Linked DNA regions of Homo sapiens: region 1 is linked to region 2. The links are contacts of gene promoters, found by promoter capture Hi-C in human tissues and cell types (Jung and others, 2019). All regions are on one chromosome and are shown on one strand. The core of a region is centred on a gene start or on the middle of the fragment in contact, and the rest is flanking DNA. Distances in the headings are between cores, read along the strand shown. Region 1 overlaps MMP2-AS1 (MMP2 antisense RNA 1). Region 2 holds the start of CAPNS2 (calpain small subunit 2).

Region 1 (5,510 bases), core at 182-2,681, 120 kb before region 2:
AATGGATGATCACCAAACGAGGAAGGATCTTCCCATCAGAGTCTAATTAGTTTCATTGTCTTTTTTTTTTTCTGGATTCCATTGTATTTCACTCTACCCTTCGGCTGCCTGTTTTAATTAATGTTGCACTACATTCAAAGGTTTTGCTTTTGTGCCTCTCTGTTTGATTTAAATTCCTTTTTGCAAATAAATAAATAAATAAATAACTATCAAAGCTAATGAGGCTCTGAAGATTTGAGATGTAAATATCATATGCAGATTCTTTTTTGGTCCCAGCTCAGCGGAAGACCAAAAATAACACTTGAAAGTTTGATTAAGAAATCTCAGGCTCCCCATCTCATGCCTCCCTCCAGACAATCTTTCTGCTGGCATTTTCAGTTATTTGACAAAAAAAAAAAATCAAGCCCCCCAAACCCAAAACCTCAAGAGCAAGCTCCTTTCAAGACTGGCTCAGATGGGCATGGTATTGTGCTGAGCTGCTATTTAAGATCCAGCCCGGACTGACTGATTCCTGTCTGTCCTGAGAGATCTGTGCATGTCAATGCATCCACTCACCACACACACACACACACACACACCTTCATATGCATCCACAGACACACAAAATTATTTTCACACACAAACTCATCCATATTCATACACGCATACCCTCATGCCCACTCACCAATGAAAACTCGAAACACACATATTTCCACACATGCAAACTCATCCATGTTCATACACACATACCTTCATATACACTCACCAACACAAACTCACAACACACATTTTCACACATGCAAACTCATCCATATTCATACACACATACCCTCATACACACTCACCAATAAAAACTTGCAACACAGACATTTTCACACATGCAAACTCACCCATATTCATACACACATACCCTCATACACAGTCACCAACACAAACTCACAACACACACATTTTCACACTCATACGTGCGCGAACTCACACACTGATATACACATACTCACCCACATGTAAGTAGACTCATACACATTCCTGCATGCATTCACACACAGTTTCCATATGCACACACATTCTCCCACACACCTGACACATACATCATGCTTTCGCAGATCAAGTTTCCAGTTTCACATCTGTGTCACCTCCAGTACATTTTCGTACACACCCTCAAAAGACATCTCTGCAAGAAATTCCAAGACTCCCCACCCCCTTCCTGGCCCACCATCGTCCTTTTGGGTGTATTCAGGGGCAGCCTGGGGCACAGTTATTAAACTGTATCCCAAAGAGCTCTTCCACTATGCAATCTGCTTTTGCCTGAGATCTCTGTATCCTTTACTGAGAAAGTCTGATTCATTTCCCAGAAATTTTTATCTGCTATTAATCTTTCAGGATATAGTTAGTGTTGTGATATATTCAGATATTGTTTTTGGGTGGCAGGGGGAGGGGAGGGCAGATTTCAAGTGGCCGTCCCCTGGCAGTTTCAGAGATTACTCAGTGCTTATAAGCAGCTCAGAACTGTGTGACAGCATTTCCAAGCAAGGGACTTACAATCATGTTTCATTAATTCGACGTGAATGAAGCCTCATTTCTGGCCTTGAGGAGCTTAAGATGTATGTGAAATTAATAACAGAACAGATGTCTTCACAATTTGGTTCCTCTGGAAAAAAAAAAAAAAAAGGAACCTGATTACTTTGAAAATTTCAATGCTTTAAAATGCAGACCCAGGGAGTTTTTACTCCAGGGTAAAGAGTTATGCCTTGATATCGTCCACGTCTCATAACTAAGTGGAATTTAAATGTCAGGTTTATATTAAATAGTCATATTCCCCATCATGACATATAATAAACAACAGCTTATTACTTTCATTAATAAGATGTGTTGGACATTTAAACTAAAGCTTTGGAGATAAAGCCTGTACCTCCTGAGCAGGAGGTGCTGGGGAGACACAGGGGACACGTCGGGGAATATTCAGGCAGCCTGGTTTTTAGCTTTCTGATAATTTAATCATTGATTCCTCATAGGAAAACAAAATGCATCTGTGCTCACACAGAACTCACCACTTTATAAAGAAGTTGAGCCGTCTCCCACGGATGTGTGTGCCGGAGGCCGAATGTTGTGTTTCACAGGACACTTGAAGTCCTGCCTCTTTATTATTTCTTCCTGCCTGAAATCTTGTTTCTTTATCTAGGCTTCTGTGACACTAAGTGCCCCTCAAGCTGAATTTTAACTACTCCTCAGGGCGCAAGTGTGACTGCACACCAGGGGGGCTGGGTTTTTATTTCTGAAAGTCCAAAGGGGAACAGTGTAATGGAAAAATTACCCAAAGGGAAGTTATTCTGGAGGAGCAGGAAGAGAGAGCAAAGGCCCCCAGGCACATGGCCAGGAGTTCCCCTTGCCCTGGGTAGACAAGTGAATGAAGCTTTCAGGGGAAAGCAGTGCTAAATGGGGAAGCCCAGGGTTCACGTTAGGTCTCAGAATCTGGTCTACTGTAATGACCATAACAACCACTGTAATGACCCTTCTCTCTTTCCAGGGCCACTACGTGTCCTTGAAACTGTCAACTTCCCCACTTTCCCCCATGGAGAAAACAAGAGCATTAGACCAAATGACCTGCCAGCTTCTCACTTTGACATTCTCCATATCCTCTAAATTTGGCTTCCATGACATTTATTTTACTATGTCTACCTACTCCTCTCCACCTCCTTCCTCTCACAACTGGACTGGGTGTGGGGTGCCATGGTACAGTCACCTCTGCTGATTGCCCCAGATACAAAGGTCAAAAGAAGCTCGCAGGGCAGGAGGTCTTCTCTGGTCCCAGCTCTCCCTAGGGATGTGGCCTGGGGTAAGATGCATGCTGTGGGTGCCAGGCGTGGTGGCTCAAGATGCATGGTGTGGGCACCGGGCGTGGTGGCTCGTGACTATAGTCCCAGCACTTTGAGAGGCCAAGGTGGGAAGATTGCATGGAGTTTGAGACCAGCCTGGGCAACATAGTGAGACTCTGTCTCCACAAACAAAAAGAAGGCAGGCATAGTGGCACATAGCTGTAGTCCCAGCTACCTGGGAGGCTGAGCTGGGAGAATCGCTTGATCCCAAGAGGTCGAGGTTGCAGTGAGCTGTGATTGTGCCACTGCACTCTAGTCTAGGTGACAAAGCAAGAGCCTATTTCAAAAAAAGAAAAAAAAAAGATACACGGTGTGTTTGACCCTCGGATTTTTTATGTGAAAAGGGGTGGAATGACCCTCACCCAGGACTGTCATGAGAATGATATGAGCTGGTGCACATGCGTTTGGTACAGAGCATAGAAGCATAAAAGCTCCTGTTAGTGTTCACAGCTAGGGATCTCAAGCAATGTGCAGGAGAGAGGTATCCCGGGGTGACTGCACTTTTAGAAACTCCCTGGGCACTGGTGTTGAAGGAGCATTGTCTAAGTCTTCCTTATTCTTGACTGATATGGGGGCTGTGTGTGCACAGCAGTAGAGACCCGGGTCAGGATGCGGAAGGCGGGCCCCATCCAAGGGAGTGGGGGCAGCTCAGTGTCAGGCACTTATCACCCTGGGTGTGTATCCCAGTGGCGCTACGTAGCAATGCCAGGCCTTCTCCCTCTTCAGGGAAACCAGGAATGTGGAATTTTATGTGAAAGCTTCTAAGTTTTGAGTAGAGATCACTACAAGTCTGCACGCCATTCCTTGAAACCACTGGGGTCAGTGGTATTTCAGTATTTAAATTTTCAGATTTAAAAATATTATACAATGAGATCACCATTTATAACGTGACATCTCCAAGGGGGGTCTGGGAAAACATGTCACAGCCAAGCCCATTAATAATTTGGCATCAAAATAATTATACTCATGAAGAGTGGTGAGACATGGGACTCAACACTTTCTCTCCTTGTGGGGACCAGGCCAAGCCCCCACCACACTGGCAGAGTCAAGGCGACTGTGGCTGAGGCCTTGTGACCCAGTTTCCTGCAGCCAGCCCCACTCACTCCCAGGAGAATCATAGAAGCCATAAAGCTTTGGGATTCCTGAACTGAAAAGGCCATGACAACCACTGTGTAAACCCCATAAACACTGCATAAGGTCACCACACAGCTCCAAGTGACAGAATCCCAAGCCAAATAGGCTTAAATGAAGAACAGCAATAGCAATCAAGTTTATTAGGTTATAGGAGAGAAAAGTACAGAGGTGTCTGTTCAGGATCACCTGGATCCAGGTGCTCCAACAATGGCCCCTGGAGTCAGTTTTTATCTCTCTGCTCCACGTTTGGCTGTGTTGCTTCCTTACTCACACAGATACTTACCTCATGGTAGCAAAAAGGCTGCCAGAAGCTCCAGCTCCACATATTTCTGGGATTGGTCCCCTGGGAAACAGCATCTGTTCTGTCCCTAGAACAAAAGCCATGGGTTATCGCTAGGGCTCTGAAGGGGTCCTTTGCCCATCCTGGAGCCAATCACAGCAGTCTAGGTTCCCCGCCGGCCTGGAACTAAGGATAGGTTCCTTCTGGCCCATTCTACCCAGAGTTCAGAGCCAGAGAAACTGAATGGAGGCCTGGGTGGGGGCAAAACCGTAGGTGTCTATTACCAGGGTGACTCAGGAAACCCTTTCATTTCAGCAGAGCAGACAATGAAACTAAGAGAGGAGGTGAGATTTGGCCAGAGTCACACAGCAGGGTCACTGGCAAAGTCAAGGTTGTGACCCCGACATCTCACGGTTTGGAAATCCCTGCATTGTACCACATGTGATTAGTGGAGCCTGCTTGGAAGCCTTCCCCCATTTCCTATGTCTCCTCTCCCCCCGAGGGGGAAGAGATGAGGAAAACCAATATGCTAACAAGCACACGCCCCCATGAGCGTGCACGCGCGCGCATGCGCACACGCACACACAAGCACATAAGCCTTATGAGCAAAAAGATCACAGCACTCTATTAGCAAGCTTGTGCCAGAGTAACCACAATTTATCTTTTCTTCTCTTATACATCCCTCATCTCTGGAGAGGTCTCTACTGAGTCCAGCACAGAGTTAGCACCCAATAAATGTCGCCATTATTATTGTTGTAATTATTATTTCTCATACTATGAATTACTCTCTTCCACACTCTCCTTGGCCTAATCTGTTAATTTACCTTGAGGTGCAAATGATTAAGCAGAGTGAGTATGAATGGCCAAGCAGAAGGACCAAGGGAGTTGGCATTTTTAATAAGAGCCAGAGCCTGAATTCAGCAAAAGGCATAAAACCCTCATAATTATTAACGTGCATAGCTCTTTCCAGTTTGCAGACTGGTTTCTCATTCACCTCATTTGATTTTTAAAAAACAAAAAACAAAACCGGAAAACAACCCTGTGAGTGAGATTAGAAGGGAATCATCTCCAACCACAGATAAGAAAGCCAAGCACTCCCGAAAAAACATTTAGCTAAGGTTTTCCAGGTTTTCCTGGGAGATCTGGGATAGAACTGGAGTCCTAGTTTAGAAGCATTTTACTAAATGTACATGTGTATGCATGCATGCACATAAGCATCCACACACACTCATACTGTTAGA
Region 2 (6,090 bases), core at 3,270-5,769:
ATCTCTCATCACTCCTAGCAATAGAGTCTCATCTCATTGTACTATTCACCATCTCTTGAATACCTCATATCCTTTAGCTCTTCTGTGTTTTTGCTAGACTGTCCTTTTATATCCCTTATCTATTTGGAGAACTCTGAGACTCAGCCTGTAGTCAGGCCTACACATGATCTCTTCTATAGGTAAATGTTCTCCTTTCCTTTGCCTCAGTAGAATTCATTGATCCCTTTTTGTGTGCCTATACTTGTTTGATATCATAGGACAGTGTACTAGCTGCGTGACCTTGGATAACTAGCTTAACTTTTCTGAATTTTTCTTACCTTATCTAAAATACATTTGTATCTTTCAGAGGAATTCAATGAAACCTAAATACTAAAACATATATATACAAATATAATAGATTAGTATTGATAGTAGAAATGTGAACACAGACTTCATATTATAATTATACCAGTTTCCTGTAGTTCTACTTGATTTTTGAGCACAGCCATCCTGCTTTATTCACCTTTGTAACCTAAGTACTGAGCCCAAGTCCTGATACATAATAAATCAGATTGAATCATTTGAAGTAAGCAAGGGCGATATTATTATTATCATTTTGTAGATTCGAAATTGAGACCCCCAAATGCTAAGTAATATAATGACTTAATCATTAAGTCCTAGCTACTTTTCCCCAAGTTCCCCAGTAGAACTTCCAATAACCTCTGGAGGACCTGTACTCTGACTATAACTAGTATTAAAGGTAGGATTTCTCAAAGTATTATCCAGGCTACCTGTTACAGACTGACTTCTGAAGATGCTTATTAAAAATATAAAATCAAATCTCAAAAATATACTGTTGAGGGGGGAAAAAGCTAGACACATAAAACCAGAAATGAAAGAGAAGACATTGCTACCAATTTTACAGAAATAAAAAGGATGATGAGTGAGTACTACGAACAACTGTATGCCAACAGATTGCATAAGCTAGATGAAATTGTCAAATTCCTACACAACCTACCAAGACTGAATCATGAAGAAGTAAAACATATGAATAGACCTATAACTAGCAAAGATATTGAATCAGTAACCAAAAACCTCCCAACAAAGAAAAGCCCAGGACCAGTTGGCTTCACTGGAAAATTCCACCAAACATTGAAAGAAGTACTAACACCAGTTCTTTTCAAACTCTTCCAAATAATTAAAGAAGAGGGAATACTTTCTGATTCATTCCATGAGGCCAAAGTCAGATAAAAACACTTGGAGAGAAGAAAACTACAGACCAATATGCCATATGAACATGGATGCAAAAATCAACAAAATACTAGCAAACACAATTCAACAGCACACTAAAAGTATTATACACCATGATCAAGTGGGATTTATTCCTGGAATGCAAGATGGTTCAATATATGAAAATCAATTAATGTAACACAGCATATTCTCAGAATGAAGGGGAAAAATCACATGATCATCTTAACAGATGCAGAAAATGCATTTGACAAAATTCAGTACTCTTCCCTGATAAAATCACACAACAAACTAGAAGGAAAGTGCCCCAACATAATAAACACCATATATGAAAAGTTGATAGCTAACATTGTGTTCAGTGATGAAAAGACTGAAAGCTTTTCCTCTAAGATCAGGAATAAGACTAGGATGCCCACTCTCATGCTTCTACTAACATGGTATTGGAAATCATCGCGAGAACAGTTAGGCAAGAAAAAGAAATAAGAGGCATATGAAATAGAAAGGAAGAAGTAAAATTATCTCTGTTAACAAATGATATGATCTTATTTGTAGAAAACCCTAAAGATTACCCCTCACACATACAAAACACAGAACTAATTAAGGGACTTAGCAATGTTACAGGATATGAATCAACACACAAAAATCAGTTGCATTTTATACACCAACAATGAACAATTCTGAAAAGGAAACTAAGAAAACAATTCCATTACAATGGCATAGAAAAAATTAAAATACTTAGGAATAGACTTCAAGAAGGAAGCTAAAGACTTGTACACTGAAAACTACAAAGCACTGCTGAAAGAAATTGAAGAAGAGACAAATAAATGGAAAGATATTCCATGTTTATGGATTAGAAGACAATATTAAGAGTCAGTACTTCCCACAGTGATCTACAGATTTAAAGCAATCCTTTTCAAAGTCCCAATGTTTCTTTACAAAAATAGAACAATCAATCCTAAAATTCATAGGGAATTTCAAGGGACACTGAATAGCCAAAACAATCTTGAAAAAGAATAGCAAAGTTGAAAGCCTGACATTTCCTCATTTCAAACCTTACTTCAAACCTACAGTAATCAAAACAGTGCAGCACTGGTTTCAAGAAAGACATATAAGCCAATGGAATAGAATAGAGATCCCAGAAGAAACCCTTGTGTATATGGTCATATGATTTTCAGCAAGAATGCCAAAACCATTCAATGGGGAAAGGACGGTCTTTTCAACAAATAGTGCTGGGAAAATTATATATCCACATGCAAAAGAATGAAGTTGGACCCTTAACTTACACATATACAAAAGTTAACTCAAAATGGATCAAAGATCTAAACATAAGAGCTGAAACTATAAAACTCTTCAGTGAAAACAGAGGAAAAGCTTCATGACACTGGATTTCTCAATGATTTCTTGAATATTACGCCAAAAGCACAGGCAGCCAAAGAAAAATAGATAAATATGACCACATACAAATTTTAAACTTTTGTGCATCAAAGGACACTAACAACAGAGTGGAAAGGTAACCTACAGAATGAAAGAAAATATTTACAAATTATATATCTGATAAGGGATTAATATCTAGAATATTTAAAGAACTCCTGCAACTCAACAACAAGAAACCCAACAAATAACCAGATTTTAAAATGGCCAAAAGATTTAAATAGACATTTTTCCAAAGATCTTCTTTGGTCAGTAAGTATTAATACATTAAAAGATGCTCAACATCATTAATCATTAGGGTAATGCAAATCAAAACTACAATGTTATACCACTTTACAGCCATTAGGATGGCTATTATTAGAAAACAAAACAAAAGAGAAAATAACAAGTGTTTGCAAGCATATGGAGTAATTGGAACTCTTGTGTATTGCTGGTGGGGATGTAAGTGGTACAGTCAATAAGGAAAAGCGTATGGTAGTTCCTTAAAAAGATAAAAATAGAATTATCATATGATTCAGCAATTCCACTTCTTGGTATATACCCAAAAGAATTGAAAGCAAAGACTCAAACAAATATTTGTATACCCATGTTCATAGCAGCATTATTCCCAATAGCCAAAAGGGCAACCCAAGTATTCACCAATGGGATAATGGAAAAACAAAATGAGTATATTAATGCAATACAATATTATTCATCATTAGAAAGGAAGGGAATTCTGACACATGATACAACATGGATGAATCTTGAAGAAATTATGCTCATTGAAATAAGCAAGTCACAAAAGAACAAATACTGTATGATTCCACTTATATAAGGCATGCAGAGTAGTCAAATCATAGAGCTAGAAAATAGAGAGATGGTTACCAGGGGTGGGGGAAGGGGAGAATGGGAGTTATTCTTTAATGGGTACAGTTTCAGTTTTGCCAGATGAAAAAAGTTCTGAAGATAGCTGGTGGTGATGGTTTCACAATGCAAATATACTTAATGCCACTGAACTCTATACTTAAAAATGGTTAAAATAGTATATTTTATGGCATGTGTATTTTATCACAATTTTAAAACATTTAACATTTTTATAATGAAAAAGGAATAAATGAAAGAGTCTGTACTGTCTGATTTAATTTATTTAAGGTGCAAAAATAAATCTATGGTGTTAGATGTCAGGACAGTGGTTATCCTTGGAAGACGGAAGTAACTAGAAAGAAGTATGAAGAGGCCTCTGAGATGTGTGCAGTCTGTGAAATTCTTTGAGCTATCCATTTGTGATTTATATGATACATTTTTTACATGAATGTTACATTTCAAAAAAGATTTTAGCAATGTCGATCACAGACACCACAGCAGCCCTATGGAATCAGAATCTCTGGGAGTGGAAATTCAGGACCTTGCATTTTAAAAATCTCCCTTCTAAATTTTTCTTAAGACTACTGGATTTTGAGAATCTTTGCTAAAGGAAGAGGATTAAATATTCTTCCAATGCCCAAGATTTCTTCAATTCTATTCTAACAATAAATATTTCTTAGAGAATAAATTTTTGATTTCCTTGCATCATTTACCTTTTTCCTGTTAGGAAAATGCACATCATTTTTTAGGTGCTGAGACAGAGGACTAAGAAATCAATGACATAAAAATGCATACTTTAATATTTTTTCTTTAAAACTATTATCCTAAGGTGTCCTACATACTATAATTTATAAGTATCTGGAAGAGTGAAAACAATTTTATTGAGGCCTTGTAAAATATGGCAGGTGCTAGGACCTCATGGAACTCAGGTATCTTCAGTAGGATGTGAAACATCACATCATGGGGCGTGGTGCAGTGTAAGCAGGTAAAGAAAAGCCAGTTCTTCCACATGTAAACTACTTGAACTCCATTTCATCTTTTTTCATACCATCTCTAAGATTGCTGCCGCATTTGCTTGTTAAACTGAAAGCATGTTTCTTGCAAAGGCTCTATTGGAAGGAGCAGATCGAGGTCTTGGAGAAGCTCTTGGAGGCCTCTTTGGAGGAGGTGGTCAGAGAAGAGAAGGAGGAGGAAGAAATATTGGAGGGATAGTTGGAGGAATTGTGAATTTTATCAGTGAGGCTGCAGCAGCTCAGTATACTCCAGAACCGCCTCCCACTCAGCAGCATTTCACCAGTGTGGAGGCCTCAGAAAGTGAGGAAGTTAGGCGATTTCGGCAACAATTTACACAGCTGGCTGGACCAGACATGGAGGTGGGTGCCACTGATCTGATGAATATTCTCAACAAAGTCCTTTCTAAGCACAAAGATCTTAAGACTGACGGTTTTAGTCTTGACACCTGCCGGAGCATTGTGTCTGTCATGGACAGTGACACGACTGGTAAGCTGGGCTTTGAAGAATTTAAGTATCTGTGGAACAACATCAAGAAATGGCAGTGTGTTTATAAGCAGTATGACAGGGACCATTCTGGGTCTCTGGGAAGTTCTCAGCTGCGGGGAGCTCTGCAGGCCGCAGGCTTCCAGCTAAATGAACAACTTTACCAAATGATTGTCCGCCGGTATGCTAATGAAGATGGAGATATGGATTTTAACAATTTCATCAGCTGCTTGGTCCGCCTGGATGCCATGTTTCGTGCCTTCAAGTCTCTGGATAGAGATAGAGATGGCCTGATTCAAGTGTCTATCAAAGAATGGCTGCAGTTGACCATGTATTCCTGAAGTGGGAACTGAGAAGTCAAGATCCTCCCTGGAGGACAGGACTGAAAACCTTGCCAAGCTGTACACAGTTGCTGATACCCTGTGCAACAGCTCTCATTTCCTGGCAAGCTCTTTCACAACCCTACATATTTCTGATCATGTGCTGCCTTTTACTGCTGAATTAAAACAGATATTTCACGAAAAATGTTCTGAGTGGTTTGTATATCAGCTTTTTGAGATTTGGATTTATATGGACTTGCATATATATGGTGGGGAGGTTGTGGGGTAGAGTTCTAATGGAGTAGATTTTAAAAGGTGTTGCTTATTTAGTGAATAAATTCCAAGGAGTAGGAACTTTATTATTGTTGTTATTGTTGTTAAGAATGAATTTTTTTAATCCTAGAATAAATCAAGAAAGCCCTCAGGAGATACATTTTCCATTTTAAAAAGTTGAGGAGAGAGGTTCAAAATCTGTTTTTCTTGTAATTTTATACCTGGTTTTCCCATTATGTAAAAAAATGAAAAGTGCTTTTTAGGAAACTTATTTAACCATAAAGAAACAGGTTCAGACAATGAAATTAAGCAGTTTTATATAAGGGTAGCATTTTTTTAAATGATGGAGCTACTATCTAAAATTCTAAAGTTCTTTAATTCTGTTTCTTTAGTAAAAAAAAGCACTAGCAATTTTGTTTTGATACATTTGTAAAGAGAGTCAAAGACATTGAGGAATAAAACAATATGCTCATAGTTCAAAAATGTCTCTAGCTGCCTT

What was found. The method cuts DNA at HindIII sites, captures the fragments that hold promoters and counts their contacts. A contact is called where the count stands out against the background at its distance.
Region 1: a fragment that was not itself captured here is called in contact with the fragment with the promoter of CAPNS2 in region 2 in 2 of the 25 tissues and cell types used here (mesendoderm cells and thymus).

The regions. Positions count from the first base shown.
Region 1 is chr16:55,442,592-55,448,101 of GRCh38, forward strand. MMP2-AS1 (MMP2 antisense RNA 1) reads right to left here. Exons shown (of 7, transcript NR_147198.1): 3 at 4,273-4,357; 4 at 1,522-1,630. Among named protein-coding and RNA genes, the nearest start is that of MMP2-AS1, 17 kb to the right of the region's middle. The HindIII fragment of the contact is 3,141 bases long and covers 1-3,002 here.
Region 2 is chr16:55,562,165-55,568,254 of GRCh38, forward strand. It overlaps CAPNS2 (calpain small subunit 2), which reads left to right and starts at 4,520. Exons shown (of 1, transcript NM_032330.3): 1 at 4,520-5,523. The coding sequence starts at 4,593. The coding sequence ends at 5,339. The region is part of intron 11 of LPCAT2 (lysophosphatidylcholine acyltransferase 2); the gene reads left to right. The HindIII fragment of the contact is 10,931 bases long and covers 2,102-6,090 here.